Regions from separate parts of the Homo sapiens genome. Here region 2 is linked to region 1. The links are contacts of gene promoters, found by promoter capture Hi-C in human tissues and cell types (Jung and others, 2019). All regions are on one chromosome and are shown on one strand. Each heading gives the region's core, a stretch centred on a gene start or on the middle of the fragment in contact. The rest is flanking DNA. Distances are from core to core; before and after follow the strand shown. Region 1 holds the start of DLX2 (distal-less homeobox 2). Region 2 holds the start of GORASP2 (golgi reassembly stacking protein 2).

Region 1 (3,566 bases), core at 969-3,468:
AGCTCAAGTGAATCTCCTGCCTCGGCCTCCCAAGTAGCTTGGATTACGGGCTCCCACCAGCAAACCTGGCTAATTTTTGTATTTTTAATAGAGATGGGGTTTCATTATGTTGGCCAGGCTGGTCTCGAACTCCTGACCTCAGGTGATTTGCCCGCCTTGGCCTCCCAAAGTGCTGGGATTACAGGTGTGAGCCACCGTGCCCAGCAGGCGGTTGGATTTTTAAAATTGTCTTTTTCAGGGAATTTTTTTTCTACATTAGATCAAAGCAGCTACCACTGTGGTGACAGAAAGAGTTGGAATTTGAAGTCAAAACACCAAAAGGCGGGCAGATCACGAGGTCAGGAATTCGAGACCAGCCTGACCAACATGGTGAAACCCCATCTCTACTAAAAATACGAAAATTAGCCGGGAGTGGTGGCGCGCGCCTGTAATCCCAGCTACTTACGAGGCTGAGGCAGGAGAATCGCTTGAACCCAGGAGGTGGAGGTTGCAGTGAGCCAAGATGGCGCCACTGCACTCCAGCCTGGGTGACAGAGTGAGACTCCGTCTCAAAAAAACAAAAACAAACAAAAAAACACCAAAAGGCAATCATGTTTCAATATCAAGAGGTTGGTTTTGCAGCTGAGGCCCACAAAGTAGGCAGAGAACCGCATAAAGCAATGCAGGTGGGTGGAGGTGAGCTCCACCTCCAACGTTTCTCATAAGCTGGCGCTTTCCATCTAGGGGCCTTCCTTAACCAAAAAAAAGCTGGGAACTAAATCCAGGTAGACTTAAAGGCGCATTACCTATCTCATTATTTCTCTGTGTGAATGCTGGAGTTTTAATTACACACTTGCTTTTTATGGGGAAGAAGACCAAAGATCATATTTTTGAAGGTATCAACTTGTTTTCTATCAGACAGTTGTTTTAACAAGTTCTTTCAGCGACATGTTATGTCTTTAGGAAAGGGTGCTTCAGATGGTGCGCACTAGCACAATTTTGTGGCTTTTAATTACTATTTTGTTCTTTTGGGGGGTTTCAGAGGCTGGCGCCTGGGCGTGATTAGACCGTCTACCCCGCCCCCCGCAACCTCGCACACTGCCCACCAGGTGGCGCCACAAAGCAAGCGCTGCCGCAGGAACTTCGGACTTGGGAGTCCAGCAAGTCGTGCAGTCCATCACCGTCGGGCCAAGGTTTCCAACTACAAGGTTATAGAGACAGAGGAAGTCACCATTTCCGATTTTTTAAAAAACAGAGGGAAAAGAAAAAAATTGCAATGATAGGGTAGAACAGGGTCCTAAAATGCAAAACTGTAAAACAGGATTAAATTCAACAAACCAGATAAAACTTTTTATATTTGTTGTAAATTTACAGAGAAGTGATAAATCTAGTATCTACTTGATAAATCTATAATCTCACCTATTATCCTATTTCCTTTTTCGCAAGAGCATCGAATTTTCAAGGACAACTGGTGAACCTTTCCACCCGAAGGAGGAAGTCCTCGGGATGGCTTTCAGGGTGTCATTTACTTATCAAACGTATATAATTACTCAGAGTCTCGCGTGTCGGGAAAGTACCAGGGAAAGTGGTTTCAAATATACTATTAGCAATAATACCTTTAAGTTTATGTAGCTTCTCTTTGAAGCAACAAGGAAAACCCGTTTCAATATTATATGATTAATTGTCCTAATATCCCTGCGGATTGGTTAAGAAGCGAGCATTACACGTGGTTTGTGGATAATTAAATCAATTGATTATGTCAAGTGCCGAGTGGCTAACAAGAATAAATGCCAGACACTTCGAGGAAAAGTGAAGATAGAGCTGGCTGGACTCTGGGCACCGATGTACTTTAATGTGTTTGAAAACTGACCTCGGACATGAAAGTACGAATCACTGGAACTGGCACTTGCTCACAGAATGGGAGAGGGGACCCCACTTCTTCCTCTGAGGCAAAACGCCAGTCTGTCTCCACGCCTTCTGTCTTCCTGCTGCGGGCCACCCTGACTCCTCGCTACCTCGACCCCTCGCCTCGCTGCTCACATTCGGCGGCAGTCTGTTTGCACCTGGGGCCGCTGCAGCCGCAGCCGCAGCCACAGCGCCCACCATGTGACGCCCGCCCCTTGGCCGGGCGTTCCCGGAGCTCCGCGGCCGTTTGCTTCTGATTGGCTGTTGCTAGGTGACGTCGCCAGCGCTCACGTGACGAGTGTTAAATGCCCACACTTCAGGAGCCCGCCTGGCAGACAATCGTAAAGCCGCTCGGGGCCGCTCACCTGCTCCCGCCTCCCAGAGCCCCGACCCGGCCCAGCCACCCCTGCCCCCTCCACTGCCCGCCCCCCGCCAGAGCCCGCGCTCGCGCTGGGCAAGGAGCCGAGCGGGCCCAGAGGCCGAAAGAGGATGCGACCAGAGGCAGCTGTCCCGAGCAGCGCACGGTGATCGCCTCCCCCGGAGGAGGAGGCGCCTAGACGGTTGCCTCCTTTCTTGTTTCCCCACCACCACCCCCGTAATTACATTGGCTGCTGGAGGGGACCGGGAGAGACAGAGGAGGCGCCTGGCTTCCCCCGCACGCCCGCCACCTCTGCTCTTTCCCGTCTCGGGCCAGGATGACTGGAGTCTTTGACAGTCTAGTGGCTGATATGCACTCGACCCAGATCGCCGCCTCCAGCACGTACCACCAGCACCAGCAGCCCCCGAGCGGCGGCGGCGCCGGCCCGGGTGGCAACAGCAGCAGCAGCAGCAGCCTCCACAAGCCCCAGGAGTCGCCCACCCTTCCGGTGTCCACCGCCACCGACAGCAGCTACTACACCAACCAGCAGCACCCGGCGGGCGGCGGCGGCGGCGGGGGCTCGCCCTACGCGCACATGGGTTCCTACCAGTACCAAGCCAGCGGCCTCAACAACGTCCCTTACTCCGCCAAGAGCAGCTATGACCTGGGCTACACCGCCGCCTACACCTCCTACGCTCCCTATGGAACCAGTTCGTCCCCAGCCAACAACGAGCCTGGTATGCATAACGCTGAAGTCAAGAGTGCCGAGTCGGTCTAGTTAATGGGATGGATGGGTAAACGTGTTTGGGGCGGGGGGCCTTCGAAAGCTCTGGATTTTCACGCTGCCTGCTCACCGCCCGCTTGTGCCCTTTACCCTCCCCAGCCTCCAATCTGCCGCAGGTCGCCGGTTACGTCCCTCTCTCCTTTGGTAGGACCTGGTGGCCTCAAGAGCCAAGTGGGCGTGCTCTGCCTGCCTCATAAGGGCATCTCCTTGCCACCAGCTTCTTTCTCTTGGGTGTGCACTTGTCTCCCCCTTCCCTGGAGGGTACAGCTCCCGGGGTCGGTGGCGGCTCCGATCGCACGCTGCGAAGTTGCGCCTGCCCGTGGCGCCACAGTTCAGTGCACCCACCTCTTTGCTCAAGCCAAGTCCCCCCCGCCGGGCCCTCTAGGAGGGCGGGAACTCCAGGACCCCTGGGTTGCGCTGTTCTTACGATTCTTTATCGTTGCAGAGAAGGAGGACCTTGAGCCTGAAATTCGGATAGTGAACGGGAAGCCAAAGAAAGTCCGGAAACCCCGCACCATCTACTCCAGTTTCCAGCTGGCG
Region 2 (3,709 bases), core at 10-2,509, 1.2 Mb after region 1:
CTCACCTAAAACATGGGACCCAGGGCAGGAAATGAAGGTAGCACCAGGAAGTGCACTCTCTTACTTTCAGTGAAAACGTTCTTGCCTGTGAGGAGCTAATATTGAGTGACACTCTATTACACCCCTAAATGGCGCTACACGCTGCGGCCACTCTGTTGACTGTTCATGTTAACACTCACACAGGTGTCACAGCAAACAACCATCAATGCTACTTCTAAAGTCGCCCGGTTCCATGAGGAAAAGACCACATGCTTTGTACCACCCAGGCCCAGGCCGTTCATAGGTAGGGGCTTAGCTGACGCCTTTTGAGATACTATGTTTCTCTGCGTCCTGGAAGTTAAGCTAGGGTTGTTTTCCTTTATATACTCCGATTTTTAAAAAAAATTTCTCTGCACTACCTCTTTACCACTGTGGATCTAAACCTTATAATCTAAACCACACCCTCAGCAATCGGAACAGAACGGAAGTTCCCACTCCAGGAAATCTTGAGAAGGTTTGGGAGGGTCAGGAGTGGCACGGGAAAGGAAAAGTCTGGTCAAAATCAAGTCTGTTTAAGTCCGTCGAACCTACTTCCAGGCCATTTGGTTTTCCGTCTCCTGCCCTGCTGGTCTTTCAGGCCACTCGGCCGGCGCCGAGGTGATTTAACACCTGCCGCCGCAGGCCCCGCCTCCGGACTGCGGGTCCGGATCCCTCTCCTAGGAAAGCGCAAAGGCTGCCTTCACAGTCACCACTTTGGAGACGTTGCCTCCGCGCCCTTCCTAACTTTGGAAGCTAAAAATGAGGGGGGGTGGAGGAGAGAGAAGGCCGTGCGGAAAAAGAGCAAGGTTGTCCCCCCTTCCCAGGGCCGCCCCCTGGCCGAGTCGCCGGCAGCCGCCTCCAGCTCCAGCCCGTCCTCCTACAGCCGCGGACCCCGTGCCCAGGGCGCTCCGCGGAGGTGGGATGCGAGCGGCCTCCGGAACCAGCCTCGACCAAGGCAGCGCCCGCGACCGCCGCTCCTTCGCGGGATCGGGCCTGGCTGCCCCGTGAAGGAGCCCATGGGGGCCTCCGCCTCCCCGCGGCCGGCCCCGCCTCCAGCCCGCAGCTCCCCGGCCGCCGTCGGAGCCCTTACCCGCAGAACGTGGTAGCCCTCGGTGCCCCCGCCCGGGATCTCGACGCTTTGCGAGGAGCCCATGGCGGCGGGCGATCGGTGTGGCCGAGCCGGGCTCCGCGCTGCTCCCGCCCCCAGCGCACCGCCTGCTCTAATCCTCCGCGTAGCACTTGGGACGTGGCACTCGCTGCCGCCGGAGAGCCGGGCCGCACAGCCCGCCGGGAGATCGTCTCTGCTGCAGCCCGGGCCGCTGCGACGCCGCAGACAGCGCCACCTGCCGCGAGCCACTGGAAGGGGCCCGAGCGCTCGCGGGCCGGGAGGGCGGAGAGGGAGGGCCGGAGGAGGACTGGGAGGCACCGCGTCGTGCTCGCGAGAGAACAGAAATGCGCTTCCCCCAGCTTTGGCGCCTTGCTACGGGGCCCTGGATTGGACTAGATTTATGCAGACGCGTTCCCGCTCGCCTGAAAGAACACATACTTGGTTGCAGGTCCCCCTGGTGGCCAGAGGCGGGGAAAGGGCTGCTGATGAACAGGAGCGAACTCAACACACACCAAGCTCTCTGTTCTCCGGGTGTGTAGGTATTTTCCCAAACTGTACAGCTGAGGGGAATAGTGGCCTCCTGTGGGCTGCCTAGCATCTGCTCAGCTAAATTTTATAAAAGGAAACGCTCCCTTTATAAAACAGTAGTCTCACAGAGTCACCTACCAACTTCTTTTTTGGTTTGGGTTTGTTTTTTTTTCTTCCTCCCTAATTGTGAGAATAAGATTAGAGGATTGGTCATAATCAGAGCGATGCCAGCGTGGGAAGCACGGTTGGATTTCCCTGGCATTCCACCACCTGCTGCTGCTCGGTTCCCCGTCCTACCTCCTTCAGGTAGCCAGGTCGTATTCATGCTTATTCCGTTGTCGTATTCCGTTGCTGCTTTTGCCCCTTACGTGTACTCCCTCTGAAACCCCTAGTTGCTTTGTGGTCAGTTGGACTGATGTTGCGTCAACCAGGTATTATGTGGATTCCTATGTGATGCAATGTAAAGTACGTGCTATCGCCCATGAAGTATTCTAGCCCAAGGTGGTTAACTTGCCTCTATGGCATCTTGAGTTTGATGTTTACAGGAAGTAAGGGGAATTGAGGAGCAAGTAAAATGACACCACAGGGAACCAGGCAAATACAGGAAGTGGGCCTTCCTTCAGGACAGCTGGCCAGTTCTCTTTGTCGAGTCAGAGTCCTATGAAAGGGCCTATGCCAGATTAAAAGGAACCCGAAGAATATAACCAAGAGACACATTGCAAGGGCTTGAGTTGGGGGCCAACTTGGAGAAATAAGCGTAAAGGACATTTTTGGTTCATTTGGAGAAATTTGAATATGTACTGAGTATTAGAAGAGTAGTTATTCACATGGAAACGTGGAAATTATTGTCTTTTTTAAAAGCTGGTTACAAGACGGGATGTGTCTGTAGACAAAATGAAAAACATGTCCTCAAAATACAGATTAATATGTATGTATGCATATGAAGATGTGGGAGGAGAATATGAACCAAGGGTTACAGTGGTGATCTCTGGGTGGTGACAGAGATATTTTATTTTTTGTTTTGGCTGGTTCCATATTCTATGATGCTCATGAAGTGCTTTTGTAATAAGAAAATATTATTTAAAATTTAAAAATAATTTTCTTTGCTATCGGTAAGTGAATAGCAGATTTTTAGGAGGCCTAATAAATCCATAAATCCATAAATGAAATCTCCAGTTATTAGGCTCCTCAAGGACAGGGTCTGCAGTGGAGTTGGCTCTATGTTCTTGATATTTACCAGAATGCCTAGCAGCTAATTCAACAAATTAATACATTTAATGCAAGAGAATAAATGGAAGAACTAGATCTAATTATAATGTTCTCATTCTGCTTGGCAATTATAACCCTCTTTATGATGGAAGCTGCTGCCATGTTCAGTGGTCAAAATTTTTGGACCAGTTGTCTCCCATATGTCTGATGGCAGCCGCGGCCTATAGAACCCAGGCTGTGGATCGTTGGTGGTCCATGGGCAAGTCCAGCCCTTCCTTAGAGCTGTAGTGTATGTTTCAGCCTCATGAGTGGCTGCTTGTTATTCTCCACACAAGCCATTTACTTTCTTACCTTCTTGATTTTATTCATGCTATTCTCTACTTCTGGAATGCCCTTCCTTACATTTTCCACTTAAAAAATCCTAACTTTGAAAAAATCCTAATCCTTTAAGTCCCATCTCAAATGTTACTTATTTATCCTTAAGGTCAGTGTGACTCTCTCCTTGCCATGAAACAGTTCCTTCATTTCTATGACATCATCGTCATCATCACAGGCCTGTCTTCCACCATTCGTGGTCCATTCATTCAGAGCAAGGATCATATTTTTTTTTTCCTTCCTTCCTTCCTTCCTTCCTTTCTCTCTCTTTTCTTCTTTCTTTCTTTCTCTCTTTCTTTCTCTCTCTCTCTCTCTCTTTCTTTCTTTCTTTCTTTCTTTTCTTTCTCTCTTTCTCTTTCCCTCATTCCCTCGCTCCCTCCCTTCCTTCCTTCTTTTTTTTCCTTTCTTTCTTGTGAAATGGGTCTCACTCTGTCTCCCAGGCTGCAGTGCAGGGGTGTGATCACAGCTCAC

The links. The method cuts DNA at HindIII sites, captures the fragments that hold promoters and counts their contacts. A contact is called where the count stands out against the background at its distance.
Region 2: a contact is called between the fragment with the promoter of GORASP2 here and the fragment with the promoter of DLX2 in region 1, in 1 of the 25 tissues and cell types used here (lymphoblastoid cells).

Annotation. Positions count from the first base shown.
Region 1 is chr2:172,101,552-172,105,117 of GRCh38, reverse strand. It overlaps DLX2 (distal-less homeobox 2), which reads left to right and starts at 2,218. Exons shown (of 3, transcript NM_004405.4): 1 at 2,218-2,979; 2 at 3,472-3,566. The coding sequence starts at 2,580. It overlaps DLX2-DT (DLX2 divergent transcript), which reads right to left and starts at 2,112. Exons shown (of 5, transcript NR_126376.1): 1 at 1,850-2,112; 2 at 1,086-1,180. RefSeq lists a silencer at 2,217-2,416. The HindIII fragment of the contact is 12,259 bases long and covers 1-3,566 here.
Region 2 is chr2:170,926,803-170,930,511 of GRCh38, reverse strand. GORASP2 (golgi reassembly stacking protein 2) reads right to left here and starts at 1,259. Exons shown (of 10, transcript NM_015530.5): 1 at 1,109-1,259. The coding sequence starts at 1,171. RefSeq lists a silencer at 781-1,480. The HindIII fragment of the contact is 18,146 bases long and covers 1-3,709 here.